Regions from separate parts of the Homo sapiens genome. Here regions 1, 2 and 4 are each linked to region 3. Evidence: promoter capture Hi-C in 16 types of primary human blood cells and fetal thymus (Javierre and others, 2016). All regions are on one chromosome and are shown on one strand. Each heading gives the region's core, a stretch centred on a gene start or on the middle of the fragment in contact. The rest is flanking DNA. Distances are from core to core; before and after follow the strand shown. Region 1 has its middle 2.1 kb from the start of CMTM7. Region 2 overlaps CMTM7 (CKLF like MARVEL transmembrane domain containing 7). Region 3 holds the start of TGFBR2 (transforming growth factor beta receptor 2). Region 4 overlaps CMTM7 (CKLF like MARVEL transmembrane domain containing 7).

What was found. The method cuts DNA at HindIII sites, captures the fragments that hold promoters and counts their contacts. A CHiCAGO score of 5 or more calls a contact.
Region 1: a fragment that was not itself captured here is called in contact with the fragment with the promoter of TGFBR2 in region 3 in 1 of 17 cell types (non-activated CD4 T cells); the score reaches 6.0 in non-activated CD4 T cells.
Region 2: a contact is called between a fragment that was not itself captured here and the fragment with the promoter of TGFBR2 in region 3, in 1 of 17 cell types (non-activated CD4 T cells). The highest score is 7.7, in non-activated CD4 T cells.
Region 4: a fragment that was not itself captured here is called in contact with the fragment with the promoter of TGFBR2 in region 3 in 1 of 17 cell types (total CD8 T cells); the score reaches 8.6 in total CD8 T cells.

Annotation. Positions count from the first base shown.
Region 1 is chr3:32,388,421-32,391,120 of GRCh38, reverse strand. No RefSeq gene overlaps it. Among named protein-coding and RNA genes, the nearest start is that of CMTM7, 2.1 kb to the left of the region's middle. The HindIII fragment of the contact is 2,687 bases long and covers 11-2,697 here.
Region 2 is chr3:32,420,370-32,423,069 of GRCh38, reverse strand. The region is part of intron 1 of CMTM7 (CKLF like MARVEL transmembrane domain containing 7); the gene reads right to left. Among named protein-coding and RNA genes, the nearest start is that of CMTM7, 30 kb to the right of the region's middle. RefSeq lists enhancers at 2,640-2,700, 2,231-2,700. The HindIII fragment of the contact is 3,926 bases long and covers 1-2,700 here.
Region 3 is chr3:30,605,315-30,608,014 of GRCh38, reverse strand. TGFBR2 (transforming growth factor beta receptor 2) reads right to left here and starts at 1,414. Exons shown (of 7, transcript NM_003242.6): 1 at 1,038-1,414. The coding sequence starts at 1,131. LOC105377015 (translation initiation factor IF-2-like) reads left to right here and starts at 1,091. Exons shown (of 2, transcript XM_047449400.1): 1 at 1,091-1,869; 2 at 2,457-2,700. The coding sequence starts at 1,091. The coding sequence ends at 1,531. RefSeq lists a silencer at 1,241-1,340. The HindIII fragment of the contact is 4,009 bases long and covers 1-2,700 here.
Region 4 is chr3:32,437,204-32,439,903 of GRCh38, reverse strand. The region is part of intron 1 of CMTM7 (CKLF like MARVEL transmembrane domain containing 7); the gene reads right to left. Among named protein-coding and RNA genes, the nearest start is that of CMTM7, 47 kb to the right of the region's middle. RefSeq lists an enhancer at 2,608-2,700. The HindIII fragment of the contact is 173 bases long and covers 1,339-1,511 here.

The sequences.
Region 1 (2,700 bases), core at 105-2,604, 1.8 Mb before region 3:
ACACCAAGCTTGCTTCCTTCCTACCTGCTTGCCTGCCTCCTTCCCTCCTTCCGGCCTTTCCCCCCTCCCTCATCTCTTTTCTGGCTATAGTCACTATTATGGTACACGTTTTTTTGGTGGATACAAACTCTCATTTCTCTGGGACAAATATCTGCAAGTGAACGCACTGGTTACAAGGGGAGCATATGTTTGCTTCTGTTAGAAGCTGTCAGCCTGGGGAACATGGCCAGACCTCATTTCTACAAAAAACAAAAAATAAAAATAAATTAGCTGGGCCGGGCGCGGTGGCTCACGCCTGTAATTCCAGCACTTTGGGAGGCCGAGGCGGGCGGATCACGAGGTCAGGAGATCGAGACCATTCTGGCTAACACGGTGAAACCCCGTCTCTACTAAAAATACAAAAAATTAGCTGGGCGTGGTGGCGGGCGCCTGCAGTCACAGCTACTCGGGATGCTGAGAATGGCGTGAACCCGGGAGGCGGAGCTTGCAGTGAGCAGAGCTTGCGCCACTGCATTCGAGCCTGGGCGACAGAGCGAGACTCTGTCTCAAAATAAAAATAAAAATAAAAATAAATAAATAAATAAATTAGCTGGGTGCAGTGGCACATGCCTGTTCAGGAGGCTGAGTCTGGAGGAGCCTTGGAGCCCAGGAGGTTGAGGCTGCAGTGAGCCATGACAGTGGCATTGCACTCCAGCCTGGGCCACAGAGCAAGACCTTGTCTCAATTAAAAAAAAAAAAAAAGACAAGAAAAAGAAAAAGCTGTCAAACAGCTATCCAAGTGACATTCTATTCTGTATCCCTTTTGGGTTGTTTTAAAAATGAAGAGGCCAGGCGTGGTGGCTCACACCTATAATCCCAGCACTTTGGGAAGTCAAGGCATGAAGATCCCTGGAGGCCAGGAGTCCGAGATTGCAGTGAGCTATGATCTTGCCACCGCACTCTTGTCTGGGTGACAGAGTGAGACACTGTCTCTTAAAAAAAGAAAAAGAAAAAGAAAAGGAAAAAAACATAAAAATGAAGACAGGCCCAAACGGGACTACCAAAACGAGGTATGTTATCATGTTCCTTTTGAGCAGTGTCCCTGTGGCCATACTTACATTTATTCATTTGGAGATAACATCAAAAAATCTGGCTGGGCACGGTGGCTCATGTCTGTAATCCCAAAATCAAGCTCACAAGCCCAAGTTTGACACCAGCAAGGGCAACATGGAGAAACCCCATCTCTACAAAAAAATACAAAAATTAACTGGGCATGGTGGCACATGCCTGTAGTCCCAGCTACTCAGGAGGCTGAGGTGGGAGGATTGCTTGAGCCCGGGAGGTTGAAGCTGCAGTGAGTCATGATTACAACACTGTACTCCAGGCTGGGTGACAGAGCAAGACCCTGCCTCAAGAACAAAACAAAGCAAAGTGAAACATAAAACTATCTTTGTGAGTTTATTCCCTGCCAGTGCTGTCTTGTCATCAGAAGAGTTTTCGATGTGGCAAAGTCCTAATAATTCTTGTTGGTGGATGATACCCATGCAATATCTGTTTTGGCAAGTCTCTTAGGTGATTCTGATGCACACTCAAATTTGAGAACCACTGTCATTGCCAGAGTCCACTGCAGTTGAAACATTTGGGGATTTATTACACTATTTATTTCACCTTTATGTACATTTGACAATTTTCATGACCAAGAAAAATTGCCTTCCACGTGTGTCTTCTCTGTAGACAACAGTCACAGCTGCCTGGTACCTCCATTTGTTTCTCTGTAATTCAGGAATAATTGCATCTAGGGGCTGCTGTGACAATGTGATAGATATGCAGGTGTGCTGTGACATTTCTGGCTCTATACCCACAGGCATGAAGTTAGTACTGTGTATCATTTTTTTATGTAGATGTACATTTCACTTCTGTACTTGTCTAAGGCTTCAGGACCCACAGTGGAGATAACAGGGCATCTTTGTTGAGATGAGGGTTTCAGGGAAGCAGAAAAACCAAGTGCTGGATCATTTCTCCTTTGAGGGGCCTTTGTCCAATTCAGCAGTCTTCTAACAGTGATTTTCAGTGTATAGCCCCCCAACCAGCAGTACCTGCGAACTTGTGAGAAATGCAGATTCTAGGGGCCCACTCTGACCTGCTGAATCAGAAACTCTAGGGGTAGGGCTCAGCAGTGTGTGTCTTAACAAGTCTTCCCAACCCCACCCTCACTCCCCACCCCCCTTCACCATCATTCTGTGATTCTGATGCATACTCAAGTTTGAGAACAACTATCTCTTCCTGAGTCTGCTCAGAAACATTGCTGGGCTTTTCTGCCTGGTGTTGACTAATGCACCACCCACCTCTAATCAGAAGTAATCACTGTGCTGGGCACTCTGTGTTAATCACTTTATTATGATCACTTAAGAGCTTGAGCAAGATGCTTGCCAGTGCAAGGGCCATTGCTGGCCTGACTTACAAGAAGAGGCTTCAGAGGCTTGCCAAGTGCACTGAGATGTCTACACTAGTGTGTTGTCTGCTAGATGTGAATAGCTGCCCCTTGGGAAAGCAAGGTCTTAGGCAAAGGGCTTCATAGCCCACTTTAAAGATGTCACACTCTAAGAGGGAACCAACCAGGTAGGTGACCTCTGAATACCTGGTGAGAAATCAAGATGTCCAAGTTCTCCTTTTCTCTACACCGAGGGATTGCAGGTGGCTTATTGACAGTTTAAAGCTTCA
Region 2 (2,700 bases), core at 36-2,535, 1.8 Mb before region 3:
CCCCAGCTGACCTCAGTCATGTCAGCAATGAACTTTTATTGCTGTATGCCACTGAGGTTTTGTGCCTACAGTTATGATGGCTGGACTTATGATAGTTCAACTTATGATTTTTCAACTTTACAATGGTATGGAAGTGATATACATTCAGTAGAACATCAATAAATTACTTGGGTTATTCAACACTTTATTACCAAATAGGCTTTGTACTAAATGATTTTGCCAAACTGTAGGCTAATGTAAGTGTTCTGGGCATGTTTCAGGTGGGCCAGGCTAAGCTATAATGTTTGGTAGGTTGAGGGTATTAAATGCGTTTTTGACTTAACAGTACTTTCAACTTGCAATGGATTTCTCAGGAGTAACCTCACCATAAGTTGAGAAGTGTCTGTATTTGTTATCTAGCAAAAGCTAACTGATACATCTGTTTTCAGAATTTTCCTGGTTTCCCAGTCAGGCAACCCTAGCTTTTAAAAAGGAAAGGAGAATGAAGTTATTCATTCAAGGATTATCTACTGATGGCCAAATACACGTCCAGCTCTGTGCTTGGCATTAGGGCTACGAGACGGCACTGGTTGCCATTTTGCCAAAGATAATCCTAAGGAACCTTGACACAGAAGAAATAGTTCTGCTGCTGAGTACTTTTGCCACTATCCTGGGGAAATAAATATTTGGAGAAGCTGTGGGGCCAGTCCCAGCAGGAGGCCTGGCACCCAGCCCTGGGCCCGTGCCAGAAGTGAGTGCCTGTTGAGTTTCACAATGTGGGTGTAGGCCGCCTTGATTAAAACCCCAGGCAGCACAATGCCAAATAAGTGCCAGCCTGGGGAAGAAGAAATTAGTCTGGGATAAAAAACGACAAAACAAGAATAGAAAAGCCATTAAGGGATTTGTAAGCATGTGTCACGGATGAAAAATCACTATTGTTGAGAACGTGTGATCATCACGTTGTGCCCTGTGGGGCCTGGGGAAGGAAGTATGAGTGTTAGCCAAAGGCTTGCCTTCCATCAGAGGAAGGAAGGCCAAACAGGAGCAATAAAGCATGGCTAGCAACCCCCACAGGTCAGACAGTCACTCAACACAGACAGTAGGGGCTAGTTCACCCCGTTGGGCCTCAGTTTCCTCATCTTTGGCATGAGGGATAATAATCAAATATACTACAAAGAGTTAATGAGTTAATACAAGGATTAAATGAACTAATTCAGGCAAAATATTTAGAACAGCCTGGTACTGCTCCAGTAAATGCTCAACAAATGTTAGGTATTAAAACTTCTTTCAGAAGTTTCTTGGGAGGAACAAATAGGATAATGTTTGAGGTCTTGGCACAAAGTAGCACAAAAATGATGATTCCTCTAAGTGCAGTGTGTTGTCACCAGGAGATGAGCAAGATATGAGGACAGCTTAGACACGGACCCTGTCCTAAAGGGTAAGGAGCTTAAGATCCAGACACAAGTAACGACAACAAAACAGGGGATAAATACCACCAGAGAGCTACAATTTGTGAGGAATAGAGGAAGGAGAAGGTCAGGCATGTCCCGTATGAAGAGCAGACATGGCCCTGGTGTGGACTCCACAAAAGCATTCCAACACACAGAGAAGGGGAATCAGAGGCTTCTGGCAGTGGGAACACAGCCACAGAAGGCATAGGGGTGGGAAAGCACAAGAGTATATTTGGGAACAAGAGGGTTGTTGTCCATGTTAGGCAAACTGCACAGGTATGTGAAGAGGTGTGATGGGAAGCAAAGCTGGCGGGATGGGGTGGGGATCAGATTCCAGGCTGAGGAAGTAGATATGCTAGGTGGGCGATGGGGAGCCAGTGAAGGTTATTGAGCAGAGAAGAGCCACAGCAGAATTGTTCTTCAGGAAAATGAATCTAGTAGCAGGTGGACTGGAGATGGGAGAGAAAAGACACAGAAGTCAGTTTGTAGGAGGCTGTGTCAGTTCTAGCAAGGCAATGGGGACTGAAATCAGAATAGTGGCCAGAAGAAAAGGGAGAGGAGCTGGGTGGGAGAGGAGGGCAGCAGGTGGCAGGAATGTCCCAGGGAGCCTCCAGGGACCCAGGCTGCACGGTGAGGTGGGGAGCAGGGTCGCCTCCAGTGGGAGGGTCCAGACAGCCGGTGAGACCAACAAAAAAACTTCCCTGGCTGGCTTGGCTGCCTCAGATTGTTGACAACATGGTCAAGCGATTCCGTCTGTGCAAACTCTGCCATAAACTAAACCGCTGAGTCAAGCAAGCAGGCAGCAGGCCTTGCCACTTCTGCAGGCCATTAGCTGGCCCCCTCTCCTGCCCCCAGACCCAGTTCTGAGGAACAACTCCCCAGAGAGGGCCTCTCCCACCTGCTCTCTGGCCGCTGCATTTTTTAGGGAACAAAAAGCCAGCTGTGGTAAACCGCCCTTCAGTCAGGCAGACAGTGGGACTATGGCGTGGACACCTTGCCCCTTTCTTCCTCCTCCAGCCTTTTCAACCGTGTCCCCAGTTCAAAGGCATGATCATTGTGACCTGCAGGCCCAGGTACAGCTGAAGTCATTTCAGAAGGCTGGCGTAGAGTCAGCCCTCCCCTGCTGCCTGCATTCTCCTTTGCTTTCTCACTTTTGAGTCATCTGAGTGCCAAGTGAAAACAAAGACCTCCCTTCAGAAAGTTCCCCACCTCATTGGGCTTCACTTTTTAAAAATAACCTGTTAGGCTGGAACCTGGCCACTCCCTACAT
Region 3 (2,700 bases), core at 165-2,664:
GAGCCGAGATTGCGCCACTGCACTCCAGCCTGGTGACAGAGCGAGACTCCGTCTCCAAAAAAAAAAAATCTAACTTTTGAAGTCTCAGAGGTTTTACACTTTCCATAACAAATAGTTAAGAACCCCCATTCCTGCATGCATATATATATTAATATTATATATATTTATATATATAATTATATATATATTTATATATATATAATATATATATATATTTTTTTATTTTTATTTTTTCCTTAAAAACCTTCAGAGACAGCGATCAGGTGGGTAGCCTAGTTAGGATTTTAACCCTTCGGTTTCCAACAAACGATAATTGCATAGAACCATCAACTCCCTGAAGACAGGACTATCTTGTTCCAGGCAAAATCTACAGCCTCTAGCACCCAGTAGGCATTCAGTGAGGGATTCTCGGTTTCACCTGAGCATCTCCACTCCCTATCCATCCATGCCAAGGCGTCAGTGGAGCCAGCTAACTTTCTTTTGGAAATCGATTATTTTCTTGAAACTTGTTTCCAAAAACTCCGGGCCAAGAAGCCGGCCTGAGGGAAAGCGTGGCCGTCTCCAGGAGCTAAGGACTGAGGAGCTGGCCTTTTGAACGGGTGGCTCAGAAAGAGCTGGGTGGGCACGCGGCATCGCCATGGGCGGAGTGGCCCAGGTGCGCTGGCTGCTTTGGCAGCTCAGGCTGCCGCTCCGGGCCGCTGCTCCCCGGCCGCCTTCAGATAACCAACTTCTCAAACTTCCCTTTCCGGGGGTGGGGGCTCGCCTCGAACGCGGCCAACACAACGCCTTTCCTGCTCGCACAAAGGGGACCAAACGTGCCCCGCGCCCCTTGCAACTGAACTTTCCTTCTCTTTTTCAAGAAAAACTCACAATCCCTGCAGCTACGGGAGTCGGGCTGCGTGAGTGTCGCGGGGGAAACTTTCCTCGTTTCCGCCCGGGGGCCGGGTTGCCGGGCCCGACTGTCAAGCGCAGCGGAGAGGCGGGGACCCCAGGAAGACCCCCGGCGCCCCGCCGAGCCCGGGCTGGGGACCACTCACCCGACTTCTGAACGTGCGGTGGGATCGTGCTGGCGATACGCGTCCACAGGACGATGTGCAGCGGCCACAGGCCCCTGAGCAGCCCCCGACCCATGGCAGACCCCGCTGCTCGTCATAGACCGAGCCCCCAGCGCAGCGGACGGCGCCTTCCCGGACCCCTGGCTGCGCCTCCGCGCCGCGCCCTCTCCGGACCCCGCGCCGGGCCGGCAGCGCAGATGTGCGGGCCAGATGTGGCGCCCGCTCGCCAGCCAGGAGGGGGCCTGGAGGCCGGCGAGGCGCGGGGAGGCCCCCGGCGGCCGAGGGAAGCTGCACAGGAGTCCGGCTCCTGTCCCGAGCGGGTGCACGCGCGGGGGTGTCGTCGCTCCGTGCGCGCGAGTGACTCACTCAACTTCAACTCAGCGCTGCGGGGGAAACAGGAAACTCCTCGCCAACAGCTGGGCAGGACCTCTCTCCGCCCGAGAGCCTTCTCCCTCTCCTCGACGTCCAGCCCCTAGCTCTCTCGTAGCTGCCAATCATGTTTCCTAGACCAGCCCCTCCGAGAGCTTTGGCCGACTTTCAGCTGCCCCTCACCGCCCTCCCACACCACTCAGGAGTTCCTCGCTCCAAGTATTTACTCAAGAATGACTAAGTGCACACAGTTCACAAAGTAACAACAGAAAACGTCCACGTTTTCCCTAGTAGATCAGAACATCTGCCGCCTCCCCTCAGCTTTCTTCAGATTGCTCCTAGGTGCTTTAGAGATGCGTTTTCAAATTGCAAGTTGAGATCCAGGAGTGAATACTCCAATCTATTGAGTCGCGAGCACATTTCTTTCCCAAATAAAATAGTAACGGTAAATTCTACTTCATTAAATTTGTGCTTCAGTTGTGTCTATATGCATGTATGTATGTGCATACACTGTCAAGTTGTAAAATGTTTTTCTTTAGGTCGAAGTCTAGAGGTTTTTCTCAAGTTTTAATGTACATATTGATCACCTGGAAATCTTATTTAAAAATGCAGATTCTAATTCAGTAGGTCTAGGAGGCAGGCAGAGATTCTGCATTTCTAATGAGCACCTGGATAGAGCGTCCCATTTTGCACCGCCTCTTCCCGGGACTGAGTCAGTGAGTAATTGTAAATGATCACCTATCACGAAGTGATAGTGGTGGGAAATGTAATTTTCAGAATGTATAGAGTATAGCAGAAACTGTAAAATTAAAAGTGGGTTGGGAGTCACCTGAATGCTTGTGCTTTTATTCCCTTAATGCAGGTGAAGAAAGAGAATACTTACCCTCTCATGTGCAAACGGGGTAACATGGGAGCAGAACAGTATAAACTTTCAAATTTCCTTTCTTGCTAGGGCAACCAGATTTGCCCAAGACATTCCTGGTGTACATGTTTTGTAGTTTAAATATTAATAGAACCCCCTTTCTCTTTCAGATATGTCCTGATTGGATAATAAACTATGTGATCAACCTACTTCCCACTCTCAAAGATATGATTCTGTACAGCCCTCTGGTCAGTAGATCTTCTAGCAATTCATTTAATGAATTCCTTTACCTGAGAGGAAGATTGCAGAGGCAAGGGTTTGTGCCAGGGTCTCCAGGGAATAAAGGTAAATAGCCCTCCCCCAAACCCAACTCCCAAATCTTTCCTGTCATTCTAAGTGTTCATTTGCTTCATC
Region 4 (2,700 bases), core at 176-2,675, 1.8 Mb before region 3:
TGCAATAAATAGGAGAGCTCCCATAGTAAAGAGTTACCCATCTCCAGCCCCAAATGTGGCCCCTCAACTACAGTACTACTGTTGAAAAATTCTGCTATAGAAAATGTCAGTCTACAATGAGAATTAAATCACAAAATGGGGCCTGGTGCATGCCTGGCATCCCAGGCTCACGCCTGCAATCCCAGCACTTTGGGAGGCCAAGGCGGGTGGATCACCTGAAGCCAGGAGTTTGAGACCAGCCTGGGCAACAAGCAAGACCCTGTCTCTACAAAAAATACAAAAACTAGCTGGGCGTGGTGGCATGCACCTGTGGTCTCAGCAACTTGGGAGGCTGAGGTGGGAGGATCAATTGAGCCTAGGAGGTTGAGGTTGCAGTGAGCTATTATCACGTCACTGCACTCCAGCCTGCAAGACAGAGTGAAAGTCTGTCTCTAAAAAAATAAAAATCAAATCAAATCACAAAATGGATCTTACTCCAGTTAAAACAGTTGATGCTGAAATGCTCTTATTTTCTAAAGCCCCTTGTTGCTAGCCCACTATCAAGATCCTCAGCAATAGGTACAACAGCTAAAAGAGAACTCTCAGCTGGAAGCTTGAAGCAGGTATGGAGAGTGCTCTGCTTACCAGATCGAAACAGAAGAGTGTGGCTGTGACACAAAGAGTCCCTCAACATTTGTGTATTTCCCTTTGCTAATGAGCAACGCAAGTGTTTTCATTTTTTCGGTTCCTCTGAAGCTAGCCAGCCATGGTGATATAATGATTCACACCTCTGCCTTACTCAGGAGTGTGCATGATCGCCAGGGCTTTGCTGCTACGTTAGTCTTACTTCCAGGCCACATCTACATGGGGAAGTCTAGGGGTCTTCCCAGCCCCACAATGACCTCCTCAAGAACTCAAGTATCATTATTCAAGGCATGACTGAAAATGCAGATAATGTGGGATTATGCAGCGTGATTCCTAGGTAGAGAGGCAATTTTGCATCTAGTTTAATGCAGAGATTAAAATAATTTTCCAACTCGTCGTTGAAGACAAAGTTAGCTCTTTTTCATGGTGACACAGGGATGTGGAAGTTTCCCAGCCAACAAAAGGGGCCTGTGCAGGTCAGGTCTTCCTGCTCTGAGCCTCCAGGGCTGAGTACTGTGTAGTAGGAAGTACATTCCTGCTCTATCAGAAACATCTCGAACCTTTCTGGGAAACTTGCTCATGAAATAACACTTTCTGAATTCGGTTCACTGGGCCTATGGCCATCTACCATATGACTTTCTTTAGGAAAGCCCAATTTTAGAAAATCTAATTTAGCCAGAGTATGGTGTGTGCTTATGCGTGCTCCTAAAAGCTTCCTTTTTGCCCAGGGATTCATTCATTCCAACTTTAAATAGCCAGCATCTTAGCCAGCATATTAAGTTAAAAAAAAAAAAAAGATTTGACTGACATCAAACTTTTCAGAAATTCTTCTAAAGCCAGTAGGTAACTTCTGCAAATGCTGGGGCCCCCTGAATTATTTAGAAGCTTAATTCCTGGGTGACAAAATAATCTGTACAACAACCCCCTCCCATGACACAAGTTTACCATATAAGAAACCTACACAAGTACCCCTGAACTTAATATACAAGTTAAAAAAGAAAGCAAAGGTGAAGTGGAAGAAAGAACAAGACAATAGTGGGGAAAAGGCGCTGGGGTGTTTATCCCTGCCCTCCTCCCGCCAGCTCCAACCCTCTCAGGTGTCTTCGTGTTCCCAGTTAGAAAAGCAAATGCACAAACACGCCTGAATTCAGAGAGGACTGGAGGTAGGGGTTCTGACTTCAGGACGGAGTGAAGCAGCTGGGAGGCTCCTGGAAGACAGATGTTTCTGTGTAGAGTAACTTCAAAGTGATGCTGTCCAAAGGGTTCACTTGCCTCTTAAGGTGCCTTCTAGCTCCTCTCGTAACGGTTTGTTCTTTTATATTGAACTGTCATAAAAATAAAATATCTAACATAAATGTCCAGGGGTTTATTTTATTTATTTTATTTTTTTGAGATGGAGTCTCACTCTGTCGCTAGGCAGGAGTGCAGTGGCAACATCTCAGCTCACTGCAACCTCCACCTCCCTGGTTCAAGGGATTCTCCTACCTCAGCCTCACAAGTAGCTGGGATTACATGTATGCGCCACCATGCCCAGCTAATTTTTGTATTTTTAGTAGAGACAGGGTTTCACCATGTTGGCCAGGAGAGTCTCGATCTCCTGACCTTGCGATCTGCATGCCTTGGCCTCCCAAAGTGTCGAGAGTACAGGCGTGAGCCACCGCGCCCGGCCTATTTTTTTCTTTTGAGACAGAGTCTCACTCTGTCACCCAGGCTGGAGTGCAGTGGCGCTATCCCCACTCACTGCAACCTCTGCCTTCTGGGTTCAAGCGATTCTCCTGCCTCAGCTTCCTGAGTAGCTGGGACTACAGGTGTGCACCACCACGGCCGGCTAATTTTTATATTTTTAGTAGAGACAGGGTTTCACCATATTGGTCAGGCTGGTCTCGAACTCCTGACCTCAAGTGATCCACCCGTCTCAGCCTCCCAAAGTGCTGGGATTACAGGTGTGAGCCACGGTGCCCAGCCATGTCCAGGGGTTTAAAAGTAACACTGCAAGAGCCCTCAACTCAAAGCAAGGGTCCCACAGACCAGCCATGATACCACAGAATCACTGGAATTAGAATTCCAGATAAGAAA